3 separate regions of the Homo sapiens genome follow, and regions 1 and 2 are each linked to region 3. The links are contacts of gene promoters, found by promoter capture Hi-C in blood cells and fetal thymus (Javierre and others, 2016). All regions are on one chromosome and are shown on one strand. The core of a region is centred on a gene start or on the middle of the fragment in contact, and the rest is flanking DNA. Distances in the headings are between cores, read along the strand shown.

Evidence for each region. The method cuts DNA at HindIII sites, captures the fragments that hold promoters and counts their contacts. A CHiCAGO score of 5 or more calls a contact.
Region 1: a contact is called between a fragment that was not itself captured here and the fragment with the promoter of BRSK1 in region 3, in 16 of 17 cell types (M0 macrophages, M1 macrophages, M2 macrophages and 13 more). The highest score is 25.6, in M0 macrophages.
Region 2: a fragment that was not itself captured here is called in contact with the fragment with the promoter of BRSK1 in region 3 in 4 of 17 cell types (erythroblasts, total CD8 T cells, naive CD8 T cells and 1 more); the score reaches 7.4 in erythroblasts.

Annotation. Positions count from the first base shown.
Region 1 is chr19:55,423,676-55,427,003 of GRCh38, reverse strand. It overlaps LOC105372462 (a long non-coding RNA gene), which reads right to left. Exons shown (of 3, transcript XR_936075.3): 3 at 276-552. Among named protein-coding and RNA genes, the nearest start is that of UBE2S, 18 kb to the right of the region's middle. The HindIII fragment of the contact is 1,554 bases long and covers 498-2,051 here.
Region 2 is chr19:55,109,705-55,112,879 of GRCh38, reverse strand. It overlaps PPP1R12C (protein phosphatase 1 regulatory subunit 12C), which reads left to right. Exons shown (of 22, transcript NM_017607.4): 2 at 85-215; 3 at 295-413. Among named protein-coding and RNA genes, the nearest start is that of PPP1R12C, 6.3 kb to the left of the region's middle. The HindIII fragment of the contact is 402 bases long and covers 1,050-1,451 here.
Region 3 is chr19:55,282,491-55,285,585 of GRCh38, reverse strand. BRSK1 (BR serine/threonine kinase 1) reads right to left here and starts at 1,589. Exons shown (of 19, transcript NM_032430.2): 1 at 1,008-1,589. The coding sequence starts at 1,143. The HindIII fragment of the contact is 8,428 bases long and covers 1-2,295 here.

The DNA.
Region 1 (3,328 bases), core at 25-2,524, 140 kb before region 3:
TAGCCAGGTGTGGTGGCTCACGCCTGTAATCCCAGCACTGTGGGAGGCTGAGGTGGGAGGATTACTTGAGGTCAGGAGTTTGAGACGAGCCTGGCCAATGTGGTGAAACCATGTCTCTACTAAAAACACAAAAATCAGCTGGATGTGGTGGTGCGCACCTGTAGTCCCAGCTACTCGGGAGGCTGAGGCAGGAGAATCACTTGAACCCGGGAGGCAGAGGTTGCAGTGAGCTGAGATCGCACCACTGCATTCCAGCCTGGGCAACAGAGCAAGACTTTGTCTCAAAAATAAAAAATACAAAAAGGAAGCATTCTCCCTGCCTGCTTCCCTTTCCCACCCAGTGCATTAAAACATTTGCACAGTGCTGACGAGAGTTGCCTCCTTACCTTAGTGCTCAGATGCAGACTCTGGCCAGGAGGGGAGGTTCCTCTATGTACCAATTTTACGAACTTTAGGAAAATTCTCCCTAGATGCAACTAAATATTTGTCTCTAAGCTTCAGGCTTTCACCTTGCATCTGAGGGTTTGTTTGCGCATCACTCTGGAAAGAGAACTGGAGAGACACAGATAAAAGAGAGGTAGAAAAATACCATGAGGCAGCAACTACCCATCCCCAGTTTGAGACTCCAAGGGGCACGGTTGAATTTTATTTTCTGCTATGCCAGTTCACTAATTCAGTCAACAAAATACAGTGAACGGCACAAACAAGGTCCTTGTTCTTGAGGAACAAGTGAACCCATGGAAGTCCCTCAGTTCTCCCACAAACCTCTCTTGGCTTCTGTTCCTGGCAACCAAGTGCACTGTCACAATGACAGTGATTGTTATAGGGGAAAAAAAAATTAGAAAATCCAGAGAAGGAGATAACAAAATGGAGATCTCCTGATTTCTCACTGCTTAGAGTCAAATGCTGTTTACATTAGCTATGTTTTCTTCTAGAAATTTCCACATGAAAACAATTTTTTTTTTTTTACAAATCAGCCTTCCTATATATAGACTGCTCTGTAACTTCTTTTTTCTTTTACTTCTTTTTTTATTTTGTTTTGTTTTTTGAGATGGAGTCTTGCTCTGTCACCCAGGCGGGAGTGCAGTGGCACAATCTCGGCTCACTGCAACCCCCGCCTCCCAGGTTCAAGCAATTCTCCTGCCTCAGCCTCCCTAGTAGCTGGTACTACAGGTGCGCACCACCATGCCTTGCTAATTTTTGTATTTTTAGTAGAGATGGGGTTTCACCATACTGATCAGGCTGGTCTCGAACTCCTGACCTTGTGATCCACCCGCCTCAGCCTCCCAAAGTGCTGGGATTACAGGCGTGAGCCACCGTGCCTGGCCCATTTTTTTTTTTTTTTTTTTTTTTTTTTTGAGACAAAGTCTCACCCTGTCTCCCAGGCTGGAATGCAATGGCGCGATCTCTGCTCACTGCCACCTCTGCCTCTCAGGTTCAAGCAATTCTCGTGCCTCAGCCTCCTGAGTAGCTGGAACTACAGGCATGCGCCACCACGCCCAGCTAATTTTTGAATTTTTAGTAGAGACCAGGTTTCATCACGTTCACCAGGCTGGTCTCGAACTCCTGACTTCAGGTAATTCTCCTGCCTTGGCCTCCCGAAGTACTGGGATTATAGGCATCAGCCAGCGCACCTGGCCCCTGCTTTTTTCATCTAATAATAGAAGGACATTATGCCATAAGTATAGTTAACTTATCTGCACCCAACTGTATATATAGAAAGAGAAACAGAAATTTAATAGTGCAAGTAAGCTGTATAAAAGAGAATGAGGATGCCTTGGATGTTGCCCACATCACCCAGTGTGAAATAGTCTCCAAGGTTTATTGTTAAGTAAGAAAGCAAGATATAGAATAGTGTGCATGAATGCTACCATTTGTGTAAAAGGAGCGGGGAACAGAATCTGTATATAAATTTGCTGCACCAAATATTTCCAATTCTCCTCCTGGGCACATGGTAGGATTCTATTTCCCTGCCCCCGAAGTTAGCTGTGCCCGTGCGACTTGCCTTGGCCTATGAAGTGCGGGCAGAAGTATCTTTCCAGGCAGAAGCTTGTGAGAGACAGGGTGTGGTTCTCCCATGCTCTGTCTTTTCCCTCCTCCATGGGCACTGGCATATTTCAGGTCATAGCTGCTCTGCTGGCCTGAGTCCCAGGCAGATCAGCCAGGGCCCCAGAGTAAGGATGATGCCAAATAGGGGCTCCACCAGCCGCAGATGCACATGTAGCACGAATGAGAAATAAACTCTTGTTGCTTTAACAACCAGGGCTTTGGGGCTACTTGTTACTGCAGCCTAGCATAGCCCATTCTGGCTGACAGGGTTGCTTATGGAGAGGGGAACTGGATGGCTGGGGCTTTTTACTTCTAAATGCCCTTTTGCACTTCTGGATTTTTGTATCGGCAAGTGTACTCTCTACTGTTTTGTTTTGTTTTTTAGACAGGGTGTTGCTCTATTGCAGAGGCTGGAGTGCAGTGGTGCAATCTCAGCTCACTGCAGCCTTGATTCCCCAAGTGATCCTCAGCCTCCTGACTAGCTGGGATTACAGGTGCCCACCACCAGGCCCCCAGCTAATTTTTGTATTTTTACTAGAGACGGGGTTTCGCCACATTGGCCAGGCTGGTCTCGAACTCCTGACCTCAGATAATCTGCCCACCTCGGCCTCCCAAAGTGCTGGGATTACAGGCATGAGCCACCATGCCTGGCCCTACTTTTTTTTTTTAATAGAATTTTTAAATTCTGCAGCAGGAGAATCGCTTGAACTCAGGAGGAGGAGGTTGCAGTGAGCCAAGATCGCTGAGATCGCCAAGATCGTGCCACTGCACTCCAGCCTGGCTGGCAGAGTGAGACTCTGCCTAATAAATAAATAAATTAATTAATTAATTAATTAACAGAAAAGAAAGAAAAAAGAATTTAAAAAAATATAAATGTAGAGATGGGAATCTGGCTATGCTGACCAGGCTAGTCTTGAACTCCTGACCTCGAGCGATCCTCCCACCTCAGCCTCCCACAGCGTAGATTTAAATGCAAATGGTGCAGACTTTGCCTGCCATTCCCCTCACTAAGCATATGCCAAGACACGTGAGAGAGATGGGCGACTGGAGTCTCATTCCTCTCCCTCAGAGGGTGATTAGCTTCCCACTCTGAATCGGAACTCCAGTGCTTCAGTGTATGTATTTTCATTCCTCATGGATGCCACATGCCAGCCAACGGATTCATTTGTGTTCAACAAGAGAAGAGCAATCTGCTCCACACCCACTGTGTGCAGGGCGGGCAAGTCAAGGATAAGATCTGACATGAGCATTCTGCCTTCAGTGTTCGCCTTTGTCACCT
Region 2 (3,175 bases), core at 1-2,500, 170 kb after region 3:
TTTTCGTGGCTCCCTCTGGAGTCCCGACTTGCTGGGACACCGTGGCTGGGGTAGGTGCGGCTGACGGCTGTTTCCCACCCCCAGGCCTGCATTGATGAGAACCTGGAGGTGGTGCGCTTCTTGGTGGAGCAGGGCGCCACTGTGAACCAGGCAGACAACGAGGGCTGGACGCCACTGCACGTGGCCGCCTCCTGTGGCTACCTAGATATCGCCAGGTGAGGCAAGGGAGGGCCGGGCAGGACCTGGTCGGGGTGGGGGCCTGGACCCTCAGCCCTGACCAGCCCCCACCCCCAGGTACCTCCTGAGCCACGGGGCCAACATCGCCGCCGTCAACAGTGACGGGGACCTGCCCCTGGACCTGGCCGAGTCGGACGCCATGGAGGGGCTGCTGAAGGCGGAGATCGCCCGCCGAGGTGGGCTCTGGTGTGCTGTGTGTGGGGTGGGGGACACCTCCTCACCCGTGGTCTCCAGGCTGAGAGCTTTAGAGGCGGCCTGGGCACCGAGGCTGACCCTGCTTCCTAGGATTGTCTTTCTTTGTGCCTCAGTTTCCTCACCTGTGAAATGGGGGTGTAGGGGCCTGCCTCCAGGATTGCTTGGAGCCCAGCACACGCACAGGATGAGAACTCAAACCCCTACCAACTGGGACTGTCAATCCCCCTGAGTAACTGAGGGGATTGGAATGCCGGGGCGGGGTGGGTGGGTGGAGGGACTCACCCAGGAGTGCGTTAGGTAGGATTGCTGGAACCCTGCCGCAGGTCTTTCTGGGAGGGGATGCGTTTACTTGGGGGGGAGTAGGGGCATGCAGGGGTTGCCAGGGACTGGTCTCCCTGTCCTCTGAGACTCATCGTACCCCAGGAGCCTTCATATGGGGTCCAGGAGCCCCTGAAACTGTGTCTGGCCAGGTTCATTTTTCTAGGGAAGGGGTGTTGCTTCTAGCAGGTGTGTGATGGCCACACAGGATCCCTGGGTCCCCAGCATGTCTTCTAAAGTCCTGGGCTTGCCTCCCAGCTCTGCCTGTGACTGGTGACTCCAGGCACGTCCCTGAAGCTTGCTTCCCTGATTTCCTAAAACAGGACCACTGGTGCCGCTTCATGGGGTGGTTGTCAGGGTCTGGCTGGGTTGGAGTGGAAGGGTGTGAGCATGGTTCCCGGCAGACTCCAGGGGACCGTGTGGAAGGAAAGGGAGACTGACGAGGAAATGAGATACCGGCAGCCTCCGAGACTTCTGACGCGGCTGTCCTGACGGGGCCGCTGGCCAGGCTGAAAGGATAGGATTCCGCGTGGGTTCAGGGGTCCACGAGAGCCATGCGGGAGGACTAGCTAGTGGGACACGTGACGGCGGAGATCTGAGGTTCGGGAGCCCCTCTTTGGTTGAAATGGGGAGTGGGTCAAATCAGCCCTGGACCTGGATTCTGTCTCCTTCCTCCTCCAACTTTTTATTTTGGGAAAGCTTCAGATTTACAGAAAAGTTGAAGCAATAGCATGTGACTACCCATATGACTTTCACTAAGATTCGCCAGTGCTTTTTCTTTTTTGTTTTTGTTTTTTAGACAGCTTTTTGAGATGTAATTCACCTACCCTACAATTCACCCAAAGTGCACACTTCAGTGCTTTTTAGTCTATTCACGGGGTCGGGCATTTATGACCACATTGGTTGTAGAACATTTTCATCATCCCCCAACGAAACCCTGCAACCGCTTAGCCATCACCCCCAACCATGCACCCCCCCCTCCCCCCCACCCCACGAAGCCCTCTCTGCCTTCTGTCTGTGGATTTGCTGTTTTGTACACTTCACATAAAGGGAATCATACAGTATAGAATCATCAGCTTTTAACTTTTTGATAGATTTGTGTTCCTTCTCTCTGTCCCTCCCTTGCGATCTCTTCCCAGGTATAGACATAAACACATTTTTTCCTATCCTTTCTCCTCCTGTTTTTTTCCCTCCATCTCTCCCTTCCTTTCTTACCACCCCACCCCTGCCTTTCCATTCCTGAGCCTTTTTTTTTTTTTTGAAACAGAGTTTCACTTTTTGCCCAGGCTGGAGTGCAATGGCATGATTTCGGCTCACTGCAACCTCCACCTCCTGGGTTCAAGCGATTCTCCTGCCTCAGCTTCTGGGTAGCTGAGATTACAGGCGTGAGCCAGCATGCCCAGCTAATTTTGCATTTTTAATAGAGATGGGGTTTCACCATGTTGACCAGGCTGGTCTCCAACTCCTGACCTCAGGCGATCTGCTGGCCTCGGCCTCGCAAAGTGTTGGGATTACAGGCGTGAGCCCGGCCATTCTGAGACTGTGTTGCAGGCATTGTACATCTTCGCCTGATGCACAGCAGGTATCTCCTGCCACAAGGAAAACCTCCTGCAGAACCACAGTAGGGATGCAACACGCTACCCCCTGTGTTGACCTTGATGCTACACTCTCACCCACCGCACCAACCTTGATGCTACACTCTCACCCACCGCACCAACCTTGATGCTACACTCTCACCCACCGCACCAACCTTGATGCTACACTCTCACCCACCGCACCAACCTTGATGCTACACTCTCACCCACCGCACCAACCTTGATGCTACACTCTCACCCACTGCACCAACCTTGATGCTACACTGTTGCCTGCGTTTCTCCTTGACATTCTTTGTAGCCTCTCCCGCTCTGGTTCAGGGCCCAGCTAGGGATCCAGATCTGGGTGATTTAGGCTCCCTCTGTCTGGATCAGTCCTCCTTTTCCCTTGGACCCCAGGGAGGCCGGGAATGGCCTCCAGGGGGTCTGTGAACTTTCTGACGTTGTATTTTCCTGCAGAAATTGCTCATAACTTGCATCAGCTTCTCAGAGGGGGCCATGCTTCTTCCCTCCCGTGGGGTGAGGAGAAGGCTGGGAGGGATACATTGGTGGGGGATATTGGCTTGTAGGATCAGCCAGGAACGAAGACCACTGGGGCCACTGGAAAGACCCTCAGCCGTGCTGCTCGGGGTGGGACTCTGCGGCCCCAAATCACAAGGCGACTGCCTGTGACACCCTGTGACACCCGGCTCCACACAGGAGCCTCAGAGGGGCTGCAGTGCGCAGGACCTGGATCACAGGCTGCACCCCAGCTCTAAGGAGGGCGGGTCTTTTGCACCCCCTGCAGGACACGCCCACATGATGCAGAATTCCCCGAGGTGCTGGCATCCAGA
Region 3 (3,095 bases), core at 340-2,839:
ATGCCAGAGAAGGGGAGAATGTCTTAGGCCCCACGGCCCCTGTCACCCCAACCTGCTGCCTGGAGAACTGGAGGCCAGAGGACAGTGGGGAGGGAAGAGGTTTCCCAGGATGGATGCACTGCACCCCGGTCTGCAGCTGTACTGCAGCAAGAACCTCAGGTCCCAGCCCGGCCCCACTCTGCAGGCCGCCTCCATCCCCTCCCTGGCCCTGGAGCCCCTCCAGCCTCTGCCCCTATGGGGACTGGAGCACTGGGGCCCCAAACTCCCTGTCCCAACACTCAAGGTTCCGACCGCCCTCCTCCCTCAGACTCAGGAGTCCAGGCCCCCAGCCCCTCCTCCTTCAGACCCAGGAGTTCAGCACCCCTGCCCCTCCTCCCTCAGACCCAGGAGTCCAGACCCCAGACCCTCTTCCTTCATACTCAGGAGTCCAGGCCCCCAGGCCCTCCTCCCTCAGACCTGAAAGTCCAGGACCGCAGTCCCTCCTCCCTCAAACCCAAAAGTCCAGGACCCCAGTCCCCTCCTCCCTCAGACCCAGAAGTCCAGACCCCCAGCCCCTCCTCCCTCAGACCCTGGAGTCCAGGCCCCCAAGCCCTTCTCCTTCAGACCCAGGAGTGCAGGCCACCAGCCTCTCCTCCCTCAGACTCCGGAGTCCAAGCACAGCCCCTCCTCCCTGAAACCCAGGAGTCCAGACCCCCAGGCCCTCCTCCCTGAAACCCAGGAGTCCAGGCCCCCAGGCCCTCCTCCCTCAGACCTAGGAGTCCAGTGCCCAGCCCCTCCTCCCTCAGACCCAGGAGTCCAGGCCCCCAGCCCCTCTCCTCCAGGACCTGAGTCTGCGCCCCCCACCCCCTCCATCCAGGGACCCAGGAGTCTGAATCCCAAGTCCCTTCTCTATGAGGGGCCCAGGGGTCTGGGCAGCCAGCCCCTGCCATTTGAATACCCTGAGTCCCGCCTCTGCCGCCACCTCCACCCTGCCCCCCGCCCCAGGTGTCCCCTTCTGCTAGGCTCACCTGTCTGTCCTTTGCCCAGCGTCTTCTCCAGCCGATAGGGGCCCACATATTGGGCGTGCTGGGGTGGGTGGGGGTGGGGGTGGGGGAGGTGGTAGGCGGGAGAGCCCCCACCTCCCTCCTTGGCCCCGGACGACATGGTGCCCTTGGTCCCGGCCCGACCGGTCCCCCGGCCGCCCCCCCTGCGGCCGTCGCCCCGTCTCTCCGGTGGGGGCCGGCGACCGCTCCGTCCCGGCCCCCCCGGCTGCCCCCCACCTCTCCGGGGGTCCCCAGGGGGCTGGGCTGGCCCCCCCCAGTCGGCGGGCCGCGGAGCTGGGGGAGGGGGGGCTGGCCCGGGGGGGTCAGGCCCCGGGAGTCAGCATGGCCCAGGGGGGCTGCGGGGCCCCCCCTCCCCAGCCCGTTTCTGGCCGGCCCCCCGCTTCCTGCGCCTCCCCCCGCCGGGGGGGTCTGAGGTGCGGGCCGGCGGATGCTGCAGGCCGAGGTCCCCCCCGCCCCCCCACGCGCCCTCTCTCCTCCGCCTCCTCCTCCTCTCCGCCTCCCCCCGCCACCTCGTCCTTTCTCTCCGGCACGCTGACATCACCATCCGGGGACTCCGGGCCCTTCCCCAAAGTTAACCCTTTCGGAGGGGGGAGGGGGAGCGAGGGGGGGCAGGGGGCGGGCCTCCAGCTGGAGGGATGGAGAGGAGGTGGGAGGATGCAGGAGAGAGGATGGAGGGAAGGATGGAGAGAGAGAGAGAGGACCCAACAGATGGGGCAGAGATGGAGATACACAAAGAGAGATGCTGGCTGACACAGAGACGGGAGACAGGCAGAGACGCCAGAGGGATGGAGACCACCAGAGACAGGCTGAGGCAGAGAGGGAGGAAGGGCAGAGATGGACAGGGACAGAAGAGAAGGAAGGAATGGCAAGCCGGGAAAACAGACAGGGAGAGGGAGAGAAAGCTGCTGGAAGCCGACAGAGGGATGGAGAGAGTCAGAGATTCAGAGAGACAGAGAGAGGAAGACCAACCAGAGAGGTGGGGGAGAGGGGGCGCAGATGGAGCTGTAGAGAGGGCCGGGGGTACACACAGGTGGAGGGACACGTGCTGGGGAGAGGTGGGGACATATGGAGGGAGACAGAGACAGAGAGGGGAAAGAATTCTTGGAGTTGCTGACCCAAAATTCATGTCTGTTTCCCCAGCCCCCTAAGGCCACCCATTCAGGGTAAGGGTAAGTCTGTGTCCCCACCAATGTCAAGGCCCCATATCTACCCACAGCCCAGAGTGATTTTGGATTCTCTTTACAGAGAAGCTTCCAGAACCCCCTCAGTTTCCCTGTGTTATGTTTTTAGACCCCCATATATTCTCTGTGCTCGTCATAGGGTCCTTTATATCTTCATGTGGACCCCAGTACAGCCCATACATCCCCACTGTAGCAGGTCCACAAGCATGTGCTCTGCCTGTGAGTAACCCGCCTGCCCCCATTAGCTTTCCGCATAAACCATAGATCCCTCTATGTCATGTACCCGCAAGTGTTAGACACCCATTTAATTCTCAAGTCCCCTGTAAAGCACACCCAGGGCTGGGCAAGGTGGCTCATGCCTGTAATCCCAATACTTTGGGAGACAGAGGTGGGAAGATCAGCCTGGGCAACACAGTGAGACCCCATCCCTACAAAAATTTTTTTAAAAATTAGCCGGGCATGGTGGCATGTGCCTGTAGTCCCAGCTACTTGGGAGGCTGAGGCTTGAGTCAGTGAGTTCTAGGCTGCAGTGAGCTACGTTTGCACCACTGCACTCCAGCCTGAGCAACAGAGTGAGGCCCTGTCTCTAACAAAAATAAAATAAAATAAAGTGCACACAGGAGCCTATTGGCTCCTGTGAGATTTCCCAGTCCCCCATTCAACACCTTGAGTCCACACATCTTTAATGAGTGCCAAATCTCAGCCAGGCACTGTTCCTGTTGGTAAGAACGTGGCAGTGACCTAAATCAGCAAAAAGGCCTGTCCTGTGGAGCTTCCATGCTGGTGGATGAAACAGATGATCAGCAAGGTCAATAGGCAAAATGTATGGTGTGTTAGATAATCATGTCCGTGCTGAGGAGGTGACTACAGC